Linked DNA regions of Homo sapiens: all the other regions are linked to region 1. Evidence: promoter capture Hi-C in 16 types of primary human blood cells and fetal thymus (Javierre and others, 2016). All regions are on one chromosome and are shown on one strand. Each heading gives the region's core, a stretch centred on a gene start or on the middle of the fragment in contact. The rest is flanking DNA. Distances are from core to core; before and after follow the strand shown. Region 1 holds the start of RAP1B (RAP1B, member of RAS oncogene family). Region 2 holds the start of LYZ (lysozyme). Region 3 holds the start of CPSF6 (cleavage and polyadenylation specific factor 6).

Region 1 (3,932 bases), core at 952-3,451:
TGCCCAAAGGACAAAGAGTTTTTCTAAAAAAAGAAAGAAAGAAAAAGCACAGTGTTCCCAGGTAACACTTCTGTGAGCTCAAAGTTTCAGACTTTCAGTTATCAAATTTTTATGCAATAACTGAAAAGTTAGTAAAGTCAAATTTATTTGTAATTCACTCATTCATTGAGAAGTTACAGTAATTCCAACGGACTGCTCTGAAATTTGCCTTTGAAACTTTTATTTAAAAAGGTTTTCTAAAGAATGGATGTTAAGTGTTCTCATAAAAAAATGCTAACTCAAGGCCAGGCGCGGTGGCTCACGCATGTAATCCCAGCACTTCGGGAGGCCCAGGCGGGCGGATCACCTGAGGTCGGGAGTTCCAGACCAGCCTGACCAACATGGAGAAACCCCGTCTCTACTAAAAATACAAAATTAGCCGGGCGTGGTGGCGCATGCCTGTAATCCCAGCTAGTCGGGAGGCTGAGGCAGGAGAATCGCTTGAACCCGAGGGTGGGAGGTGGGGGCGGAGGTTGCAGTGAGCCGAGATCACGCCATTGCCTTCCAGCCTGGGCAACAAGAGCGAAACTCTGTCTCAAAAAAGAAAAAAAAAATGCTAACTCAGCCGGCGCGGTGAGTCACGCCTGTAATCCCAGCACTTTGGGGGGCCCAGGCGAGCGCATCACCTGAGGTCAGGAATTCGAGACCAGCCTGGCCAACATGGCGAAATCCCCTTTCTACTAAAAATTAGCTGGGCGTGGTGGCACGCGCCCGTCATCCCAGCTACTCGGGAGGCTGAGACAGGAGAATCTCTTGAACCTGAGAAGCAGAAATTCCAGTGAGCCGAGATCATGCCACTGCACTCTAGCCTGGGTGACAGAGCAAGACTCTCAAAAAAAAAGGTAACTCTGTGAGGTAATGTAACAATGTATACATTACTTCAAACGATCATGTTGTATACACAATAAATGCAGACAATAAACAATTTTTAAAAAGATATTTTTCTAAGGAAATAGAAATTATCGAAATAGGTAATCTACTCAATTAACCTAAATTGTAAAACATTATAAAACACAGAGAACTGTTATAATTCATTCTCATCTATTCATTTAACTTAGGTTAGCTTAGTTTTCAATCACTACATATTCTTAAACGGAGTGAAATTAGTCACATTCCATTTATCTTCCAAATTTATCAACGTTTATTAAGATTTATTTCAAGAATAATTTGTACAGGGCCTAATTAAATTATGAACCAAGAAAGTTAGTCTTAAATGACCCCTCAATCCCTTTTCCCTGCACTTTGCTCTCTTAATCTCCTCGCCCATCAAAACTGCTTCAAGAAAAAGTTCTGATAAATTTCTTGTACTAAGGGTAAGTAAGAATGGTAAATTCCCGTGTTAAGTTCCCGCCCTTTTTGGAACGAGGCATTTTGGAACAGAAAGTGTTTTCTGGTGCCCTGAAGTCACACGATAAACCTACTTGCCTATGGGTAATCCTGTGAAGTGAATAAAGCGTCCAGGACATGCATTTAAATACGCAATTTATTTTAGTTATATAAATGGCGTTGGTTTAGGTGCAGGGTACAAACTTATTTAGAAATCATCGATTTGTTAACTGCGTTTGGCATGGGAATTTGGAAAGAGTTCGCCCGGGTTAAGACACCAATGGATAAAACACTTGTCAATCCAGGAGAAAAGGCATCTCAAGAATGGAAAGACTTGCTGGCCCAGGCTCCCTCGGGGAGCTCTAGGTGTAGAAAATGCGCGCTCTCCGTTACTTCTCGGTTACTTTGCCCAGCACAAAGGACGACGCGAATACCAACAGACTGGACGAGTCGGTGACTACAGTTTGCATTAAGAGGCGGCGCCTTTTGGGTTTCGGAGGGTTCCACTGGAACCCACGAGGGTCAGGAACACCGACGCGCGGATTCCGCCCACCAGACAGCCTGGGGAAGCGAGCCTGAAGGCGCGGCGCAGCTAGAGAGAAGAACCTCGGCAGACATGCCGCCCAGAGGCAGCTAAGGGGCCCGTGGGCAGGGCCTGCGCTCCGGCTGCGATGCAGGCCGGCTAGAGGCCGGCGCCGAGGACCCGGCGCGCGGCGGCCCCGCCCCCTCGGCTCCCCTCGCCCCGCCCCCTAGGCCCGCCCCTTCCCGGGCCGCGCACCCGCGCGCCCCGCCCGCGGGCGGAAGCTGGAGCGAGGCTGAACGCCTGACGTCAAGGCGACATCGCCAAACCTCGCCCAGATTCAGGCGTGTAAACCAGCCGGAGCGGCGCGGCAGCGGCAGGACCGCCGTGGCGCCTAGAGTAGCGACCCGGGGGGAGCGCGGGGCGACGCTGGCTGCAGGGACCCGGTGACAGCGTGAGAGGTTCGCAGAGTGAGTGCGTGGCCGCTGAGGGAAGCCGCGGCGGCGGCCGCGCGGGGCCGGGCGCCGGCTGAGGGGAGCGGGTGGGGTGCGGCGAGGCGCGGGCCGGGCGCGGCGGTCAGGGGCCCCGGCGGCGGCAGCCCCTCGGCGCGCGGCAGGTGGCGCGAGGGCCAGGCGCCGGGCCCGCGAGCGCGCTGCCTTGCGGGCCGGCGAGGAGGAGCAGCCGCCGCCGCCGCGGGAGAACAGCGCGCTTTGCGGAAGGGGTCAAATGTCTGAAATATGGCGGAGGAAGTGAGAGCCCGAGGACCCCCCCACCCGCCCGCTCTCTTCAGCCCGCGTCCGCCGCAGCTTCTCCCGCCGCCCTCCTTTCCCCGCCGGCTCCCCCGAAGACTCGCTCCCCGCCCCGAGCCCCCTCGCTTGTCGCCTGGGTTCCCTCCGTGGTATGGGTGGAAGTTAGAACGGAAACCAGAAAGTTGTCCTTTGCGAAGACCTAGCTTCTCCCAGCCCCGAGCTAGGGCGAGGAGCCTTCGGGGGAAACCACTCCCAGGCGCCCCGCGGGCTTGAGCCTGACAGCGAAAAAGTTTGCCTGAAACGGGGCTTGCTTGCTCCATTTGTTGCGGGAAGTGGCAGGAGGAAGGCAGCGGAGAGAGCCCCACTTAGTCTGGCAGCAGCCACCGTGTAGAGAAAAACTGTTAAAGGGGCCTTTCCCTTCGTCAGCAAGAGGAAATCTCTTTCTCTTAGAGGGAGAGAAAATCCAGGAAGTTTGTCCTCTTCTCTTTTTCGCCATCTCGAGGTGTCTAATCCTAAAACTATCAGCGCCATGAATTTTATTTAAAACTACGCCCAGTGAACCGGGCTCTCCGGATTTTTCTTCTGAAAAACACTGATGTCTTTTGGAGAAAAGATCATTTTTGCAAGTTAAAGCAGATGGTTTCCTTCCCCTTCGCTTTCCCCCCTCTCCCACTCTCTTTAATAGTTTAGAAAAACATTTTGGCCCTGTAACTTCTGATTGGTATGAATAGAAGCAGTTCTGTGTTGCAGTAAGGGGAAATCACATTTTTACGGGGTAGAAAGTTGACACTAAATGAAGATTGTGATTTTAGTATTTTAAAATTAATTCCGTCTAATTGGATTTTGGTTTTGCAGGCAGCATCTCATATATGTCGAGTACTTAACAATTTAAAGCTCTGACTTGTAAATTTATTTTTCAGCTCTCTTTTTTCGTAATTAGAATACTGTTTGGACTTGCTCAACAAGACCTTATCTTAACAAAAAGTAACTTATAGAAAAGGGAGACATTCATTTAACTTCAAGCCCATATTATTCTTAAAAGCTGACTCTTGAAATAGTATTTATTGAGTCATAGTGGAGTCATGGGACTTTTTAAGGGCCGGAAGGGACTATTTAGATCATCCAGTCCCACCCTGTCATTTTATGGAGGAGGAAACTGAGGCCTAGATAAGATAACCAGTTAGTGGGTCCACTGACCTTTAGGACAGTAGTCTATCCGTAAGAGACAACATGGAGAAAGAAATACAACGTTTTTATAGTGAATTATCATCTTACAAAGAATATTCTTCCCATATCGC
Region 2 (3,932 bases), core at 1,050-3,549, 740 kb after region 1:
TCTTTTTTTCCTTCTTTCTTTCTTTTTTTTATTTTTGAGACACAGTCTCACTCTAGTTGCCCAGGCTGCAGTGCAGTGGTACGATCTCAGCTAACTGCAGCCTCAACCTCCTGGGTTCAGGTGATCCTCTGACCCTCAACCTCCCGAGTAGCTGGGACTACAAGCACATTTTTAAATTTTTTTTTATTTTTAGTAAATATAGGGTTTTGCCATGTTGCCCAGGCTGGTCTCCAACTCCTGGTCTCAAGCAGTCCTCCTGCCTCGGCCTCCCATAGTGCTGGAAATACAGGCATGAGCCACTGCGCCCAGCCAAGACTAACTCTTTTAATTGGTTTCTGTCTCTTTGGGTCCTGAAAATCTGTCTCACTATTTATTATTATTATTATTATTATTATTATTTGAGACAGAGTCTCACTCTCTTTCCCAGGCTGGAGTGCAATGGCACAATCTCGGCTCACTGCAACCTCCGCCTCCTCGGTTCAAGCGATTCTCCTGCCTCAGCATCCCAGGTAGCTGGGATTATAGGCACCCACCACCACACCCAACTAATTTTTCTATTTTTCGTAGAGACGGGGTTTCACCATGCTGGCCAGGCTGGTCTCGAACTCCTGACCTCAGGTGATCAGCCTGCCTTGGGCTTTCAAAGTGCTGGGATTACAGGCATGAGCCACCGCAGCTGGCCATTTTTTTTTTCTTTCTTTTTTTTTTTTTTTTTTTTGAGACAGAGTCTCACTCTGTTGCCCAGGCTGGAGTGCAGTGGTGTGATCTCAGTTCACCACAACCTCCGCCTCCCGGGTTCAAGTAATTCTCCTGCCTCAGCCTCCCAAGTAGCTGGAATTATAGGCGCACCACCACGCCCAGCTAATTTTGTATTTTTAGTAGAGACGGAGTTTCACCATGTTGGCCAGGCTGGTCTTGAACGCCTGACCTCAGGTGATCCACCCACCTCAGCCTCCCAAAGTGCTGGGATTACAGGCATGAGCCACTGCACCTGGCCCTATTTATTATTGAAGAATCAAAATTAGGCCTAGCCTGAAAAATGAGATTATTCTTGATTTTTGAACAGGGTCCTTGAACTGTCATTTAAAACCAAATCTGGTAATCTTTAGAGGCCACTGATGAAAAATAAGGGTAACTACAAAGTGATGACACTTTGTGTGGCTCAGAATCTGTCCTCTTAGGCAGATACAGAAGTGCAGTTCTTTTTGAGTTCTGGTAGCATTGTTTTAAAAGCTGTGCACAGCCTCCTGAGATTGCTATTTTCAAAGGTAGCATTTAGTTGGATATATGTTTGGGTAGGTTTTATTTTTAAAATGCTGTTGCTTTCTAATGACCCCTTATGTTCTAATATGGAAAGGGGAGGCAAAGTATTGTGAAAAGTAGTTGGTAAAGTAGGCCGGATGTGGTGGCTCACACCTGTAATCCCAGCACTTTGGAAGGCCGAGGCGGGCGGATCACGAGGTCAAGAGATCCAGACCATCCTGGCCACATGGTGAAACCCTGTCTCTACTAAAAATACAAAAATTAGCTGGGCATGGTGGTACATGCCTGTAGTCCCAGCTACCTGGGAGGCTGAGGCAGGAGAATTGCTTGAACCCGGGAGGCAGAGGTTGCAATGAACTGAGATTGCGCCACTGCACTCCAGCCTGGTGACAGAGTAAGACTCCATCTCAAAAAAAAAAAAAAAAAGGTAGTTGGTAAAGTTGTTCACATGAACCTTATTTATAATAGTAAAACACTGATTTATAATAATAAAAAATTTGCTATAGTAACAAAAAGAGTCTAGAGTAAGAAACTAGCTGAGCAACGTGGTGTCACACTATACACCCATTAAGACAACAGGCACATGTGTCATGTCCATTTTGTGGAAAAGATATGTAAAATAATTTTAAGTAAAAAAGATAAATATAAAAAAGTGAATGCATACAAAACAATTTCACAAAATTGAATGTTACTCAAAAATCACAGCTCATTTTAAGCTGCACAAAATAGTCATTTTTTTCTTTATAATTGCTCAAATTCATAATCAAACAGAAGAAAGTTCCTGTCTTGGAAGTAGTGCTATGCCCCAATTCTTCCAGAGCCAGTACTTTAAACAATTCCATTTCATTATTTTCCTGTAGACTAATTCTTAGGACATCAGCATATCTCTCTTCAAGCATTAAAAAAATCTCTTTAGAGTCAGTGGATCAATAGACAGTTCCTGTTTTCCACACAACTGAAAGGGTGGAGCCCCCAAACCACAAGGGGAAGAAGGAAGTTAAAAGATGTTAAATACTGGGGCCAGCTCACCCTGGTCAGCCTAGCACTCTGACCTAGCAGTCAACATGAAGGCTCTCATTGTTCTGGGGCTTGTCCTCCTTTCTGTTACGGTCCAGGGCAAGGTCTTTGAAAGGTGTGAGTTGGCCAGAACTCTGAAAAGATTGGGAATGGATGGCTACAGGGGAATCAGCCTAGCAAACTGTAAGTCTACTCTCCATAATTCCAGAGAATTAGCTACGTATGGAACAGACACTAGGAGAGAAGGAAGAAGAAGAAGGGGCTTTGAGTGAATAGATGTTTTATTTCTTTGTGGGTTTGTATACTTACAATGGCTAAAAACATCAGTTTGGTTCTTTATAACCAGAGATACCCGATAAAGGAATACGGGCATGGCAGGGGAAAATTCCATTCTAAGTAAAACAGGACCTGTTGTACTGTTCTAGTGCTAGGAAGTTTGCTGGGTGCCTGAGATTCAATGGCACATGTAAGCTGACTGAAAGATACATTTGAGGACCTGGCAGAGCTCTCTCAAGTCCTTGGTATGTGACTCCAGTTATTTCCCATTTTGAACTTGGGCTCTGAGAGCCTAGAGTGATGCAGTATTTTTCTTGTCTTCAAGTCCCCTGCCGTGATGTGGGATTTTTATTTTTATTTTTATTTTATTTTATTTTATTTTTAAAGACAGTCTCACTGTGTGGCCCAGGCTGGAGTGCAGTGGCATGATCTCAGCTCACTGCAACCTCTGCCTTCTGGGCTCAAGTGATTCTCGTGCTTCAGCCTTCTGAGTAGCTGTGACTACAGGTGTGTACCACCACACCCAGCTAATTTTTTGTATTTTCAGTACAGATGGGGTTTCACCATGTTGGCCAAGCTGGTCTTGAACTCCTGGCCTCAAATGATCTGCCCACCTCAGCCTCCCAAAGTGGTAGGATTACAGGTGTGAACCACTGCACCCAGCCGACATGGGATTTTTAACAGTGATGTTTTTAAAGAATATATTGAATTCCCTACACAAGAGCAGTAGGAACCTAGTTCCCTTCAGTCACTCTTTGTATAGGATCCCAGAAACTCAGCATGAAATGTTTTATTATTTTTATCTACTCTACTTGATTAACTATCTTTCATTTTCTCCCACACAATTCAAGATGTGCCATGAGGAAAAGTTATTTTATAGTTTAGTACATAGTTGTCGATGTAATAATCTCTGTAGTTTTCAGATTGAATTCAGACATTTCCCCTCAATAGCTATTTTTGAATGAATGAGTGAAGGGATGAAATCACGGAATAGTCTTGTTTTCAAGATTCTAACTTGATATCCAAATTCACCTTTAGATATTATAAGAAAATTTCTATCAGAAAATCCTTATGTTTTTCTGATTAAAAAAAGCATTTTTCCATCAGCCTATGTATCTGCTATGAATTTACAAAATCTACTCAACAGCTCTGTTGATTTTTCTGTTCTTGGCTGAATGTTGCCTGAGGGATGGGAGCACGGGAAGGGTAAAAGCAATGGAACAAACATGTATTTTAATATTTTAAAAGTATGTTATATTGTTCGTTGGTGTTACAAGATGATTTGCATTACAAAAGGATTCTCTTACAAGTCCCTTATCTTAACACTAAAGTGCTAAGATATTTTATAAGTAAATCTTTATACTTATAAAACAAAT
Region 3 (3,932 bases), core at 1,018-3,517, 630 kb after region 1:
GACAGCTGACTTTTTACAGACAACGATAGAAGTCAGAGCCTTGAAATAATTTTTTTTTTTTTTTTGGAGGGTCAGGGTCTCACTCTGTCACCCAGGCTGGAGTGCAGTGGTGCAATTATGGCTCACTGCAGCCTCAACCTCCCAGTCTCAAGTGATCCTCCCACCTCAGCCTCTTGAGTAGCTGGGACTACATGTGCACGCCATTATGCCTGGCTAATTTTTTAATTTTTTTGTAGAGACAAGGTATCCCTATGTTGCCCAGGCTGGTCTCAAACTCCTGGGCTCAAGCAATTTTCCCTCCTCGGCATCCCAAAGTTCTGAGATTACAGGCATGAGCCACCATGCTGGCTGGAATGGTTTTTAATTGTATTGAAAGAAGATAAACTGCAATAGAAATCCTTGCATCTTCTCTGATTCTATTGCTTCCCTCTTTCACTTCTAAAGACCCTTGCAAATTACTTTGAGCCTACCGGACAATCAAGGTATCCCTATCCCTACCTCAAGATCCTTAACTTAATCATATCTGCAAGGGTAACATATTCACAGATTTCAGGGATCAGAATATGAACATCTATGGTGGGCCATTATTCTACCACACCACCAATCTAGAAAATACTCTCACCTTTAAACGTCAGTGTCTCTTTTCTTCTATAATGCCCCAAGAAAGAAAGTGAATCAGTATTTAAATACTGATTCTTGGAACAGGACAGGACACTTTGCATATTAACTCATATTAACTCATTTAAAGTATCACCAACCTTCAACCTTGGTGAGGTAGATATTATTGCTTGGATTTTAAAGATTCTGAGATTGAATATGAGAGTTGAAAACTTGACTGAGGTCATCTAGCTGATAAAATGTCTGATTAGAAATGGGTACCCAGATCACCAGACTGGCCTCCAGGACTGCAACCATGCTTTTTCCACCATACCAAGTGCAGATTGAGTCTTTTTTATGCAAAAATGCTTGGATTTGAGGGGATTTTGGAATATTTGCATATACATAAATTATCCAGGAGATGGGACCCAAGCCTAAACGAAATTCATTTATGTTTCACATATACCTTATACACACAGCCTGAAGATTATTTCATACAATACTTTTAGTTATTTTGTGCATGAAAAAAAGTTTTGATTGCATTTTTGACTGCGACCTGGCAAATAAGATCAGGTGTGGAATTTTCCACTTGTGGCATCATGTCAGTGCGCAAAAAGTTTCAGATTTTGGAGCATTTCAAATTTTTGGATTAGAGATGCCCAACCTTACAGATGTTGTTTGGGTTATTCTATGAATGATTTCTGGCCAGTTTCTCAGGAAACACGCTCTACTACAGTATATTTTTTAATGAGTGAAAAAGAAATTAAGAATGGAGGGGAAAGTTTCAAACTGGAGAGACATCTTTGAGTAAAGTATCGTGGCTGAATGTTCCTACCTTTATTGACCATGTGACCTGGTTAAATCACTTAGGTTCTATTAGGCCTCAGTCTTCTCTTCTGTAAAATGAGATGTTTAGACCTAAGGACACCTTTCCAGTTCCCTTCCCGTTGGGACATTCTAGGATTCTGAGAGAGAAGCCCCCCTGGCCTCAAGATACCTCCACTCTCTTGGGTGTGCTCTAAGATGACTGCATTCATGTTAGAAGCATCTGAACTACGCCAGAGACAACCTACTGTAGATCTAAGGAAGAAAAAATGAATGGCAATGAATGCGAGAGGAAGGTGGGGGGGAAAGAAGCCCACGAAGATTAGAGATGGAAATGGCAACATAAACAGCATGCAAAGATAACCACTGACGGGTATCTAGCGTTTACGATGCAAATAAAACTCTGCTGGTCTCTGAGGATGCAGAAACAAGACATTGTTTTTGGTCTTAAGCCGTTCACAGAATGCCCGGGGGTTACACTTTGCATTTAAGCACGGACATATAACTTCCACCTTTAAAAGTCCTGGATGTGAGAAAGATAAGAACAACGGATAAATGAAAATATTAACAAAACGTCTGAGTATGCCAGAGGCCACGTGAAAAGACGGTGTGTGGAAACAGGTGGGACCCACTGCTAAGCTGGATGCGCGAGTAGGACAAAAAAATTGGCCCCCACTCCCGGGCCTCACCCAGACACAAAAGAAACGTCCTCTGCCCTCAGAGGCGCAGCCTTTCCTCAGCCAGCAGAGCGGCTGGGCTGCAGAGTCCCCGCCCCCGGCCGGCCCCTGTCGCCCGCGCCTCCCTCCCTCGGGCCTCGGAAGTGACGCAAGCGCCCCCCCACCGCCGCTAGATCCGCTGCTGCTGCCGCGGCGGGCAGACCTGCAGGAGGCGGCGGCGGCGGCGGCGGCCGAGGCTGAAGGAAGATGGCGGACGGCGTGGACCACATAGACATTTACGCGGATGTCGGCGAAGAGTTCAACCAGGTACGTGAGAGCCCAGGTCCCCGCCGCCGACGCGGGCGGCGCTGCGGCCGGGAAGCTGACCCGGGGCCCGCTGCGGCCGCGAGCCGAAGCGACTGCAGAGTGTGCGCCCTTGCCGCCTCTGGGCCGCGCCGCCGACCCCTGGCGTGGCGCCCCCCCGCCCCTCGTTCTACCGCGTCGTTTCACGGGCCGCGGGCGCGGCGAGTCGCCGCGGGGCCCGGAGCGCGGACGCGGGCCGCTGTGCAGCTGCCGCCGGCTCCTCCCTCGCCGGCGCTGCCTCGCTCCCTATTGTTGGCGGCACCCGGCTGGCGCTTCCCGCCGCGCTAGGCCCGGGCGGTGGGGCCGCGTGTAAGCGGCGGAGAGAACTGGCCGCCGCCGCGCCCCCTCCCCCGTCGCTGGTCGGAGGAGGAAGCCCTGGCGGGGCGCGTGCCCGCCGCCGCCGCCCCTTCCCCGCCGCTGCCGCTCGGGCTCCGATTCCTCCCATCGCTCCATTTTGTCTCCCTGCCCGCGCACTGTCGCCTCATGGAAGGCCGCGTTCACGGCCCTTTGTATCCCGCGCGCCCAGTCCCCGGGGCTCTCCTTCTCGGGTTTGCGACAGGTTTCGGCGTGGCGCCTTCCTCCTCCCCTCACACTTTCTGAAGGCGACTGAGGTGCGGGCTCATTTGCAACAAGTCCTTTGACTTTTGGAGCCACAGATAAAAGTCGGTGCGCTGGTCCTGCCTCATTAATCCAGGGCTTGCAGTGCTTTGAAGCCCAGTCGTTGTTGGCCTTTGTGATGAAAATACCTGTGAAGATGAGTGGCCGGGGACCAAAAGGAAGAATTGGAAGCGCGATGGTTGGATGGAACAAAAAGATGTTAGCTCACCCACAGATCTCATAGTGATTAAAATGAAAGAACGTTCACCCCAAATCCTTATGATGTGGTTTAAAAATAAAGAGTTATAGATAAGACCCTATTTTCGAAAACAAAGTGTTAAATCCCCCCACCCCCACCCCCGGGCCCCGTGTTACCTTTTGAAAGGTTGAGCGAAAGTGAGAATGCAAGGTTTTCCTGAACGACGTTGCTTAGAGGTAACGCGGGGCTGTGATGTCTGTTAATGGGCATCCTTGCAAAAGATGTCGTTTGTTGCTAGTGACGTTTAAGGTTTGAACCTGCTGTTCGTATCTACTGCATTTTATGTAGTAACACATTTAAAACAATTAAATTGTGCTTAACTGCAATGTTCCTAAAAGCCTTATTTTTTTGTATTTCCCAGGTCCCTATGAGAAGTTTAATGAAATATTACTGGCTAATGTGGTTTTCCCACCTCCATTAACCATCATATTCGTGACTAGTTGCTCAGGCTTTTTAAAAAACAAGGAAACTCAAGAGATCTTTACTGTTTTATTTTTCAGGAATGACTTTGTGCCTCTGGTTTAAATATTAGAAAACAGAAAAATACCAGTTGGCTTTAAATGTTTGCTATTCAGTTAAAGACTGGATTTGTTTAAATGTAATACATTGTAATCAAAGGTTAAGTTTTTAAATCT

Evidence for each region. Contacts are between HindIII fragments. The CHiCAGO score rates a contact against its expected background, and 5 or more counts as called.
Region 2: the fragment with the promoter of LYZ here is called in contact with the fragment with the promoter of RAP1B in region 1 in 1 of 17 cell types (neutrophils); the score reaches 8.5 in neutrophils.
Region 3: the fragment with the promoter of CPSF6 here is called in contact with the fragment with the promoter of RAP1B in region 1 in 1 of 17 cell types (neutrophils); the score reaches 7.4 in neutrophils.

The regions. Positions count from the first base shown.
Region 1 is chr12:68,608,698-68,612,629 of GRCh38, forward strand. RAP1B (RAP1B, member of RAS oncogene family) reads left to right here and starts at 2,202. Exons shown (of 8, transcript NM_001010942.3): 1 at 2,202-2,346. RefSeq lists a silencer at 2,059-2,518. The HindIII fragment of the contact is 9,459 bases long and covers 1-3,932 here.
Region 2 is chr12:69,346,082-69,350,013 of GRCh38, forward strand. LYZ (lysozyme) reads left to right here and starts at 2,300. Exons shown (of 4, transcript NM_000239.3): 1 at 2,300-2,463. The coding sequence starts at 2,328. The HindIII fragment of the contact is 11,988 bases long and covers 1-3,932 here.
Region 3 is chr12:69,237,302-69,241,233 of GRCh38, forward strand. It overlaps CPSF6 (cleavage and polyadenylation specific factor 6), which reads left to right and starts at 2,268. Exons shown (of 10, transcript NM_007007.3): 1 at 2,268-2,405. The coding sequence starts at 2,346. RefSeq lists silencers at 2,091-2,590, 2,741-2,960 and enhancers at 2,424-3,004, 3,005-3,584. The HindIII fragment of the contact is 17,360 bases long and covers 1-3,932 here.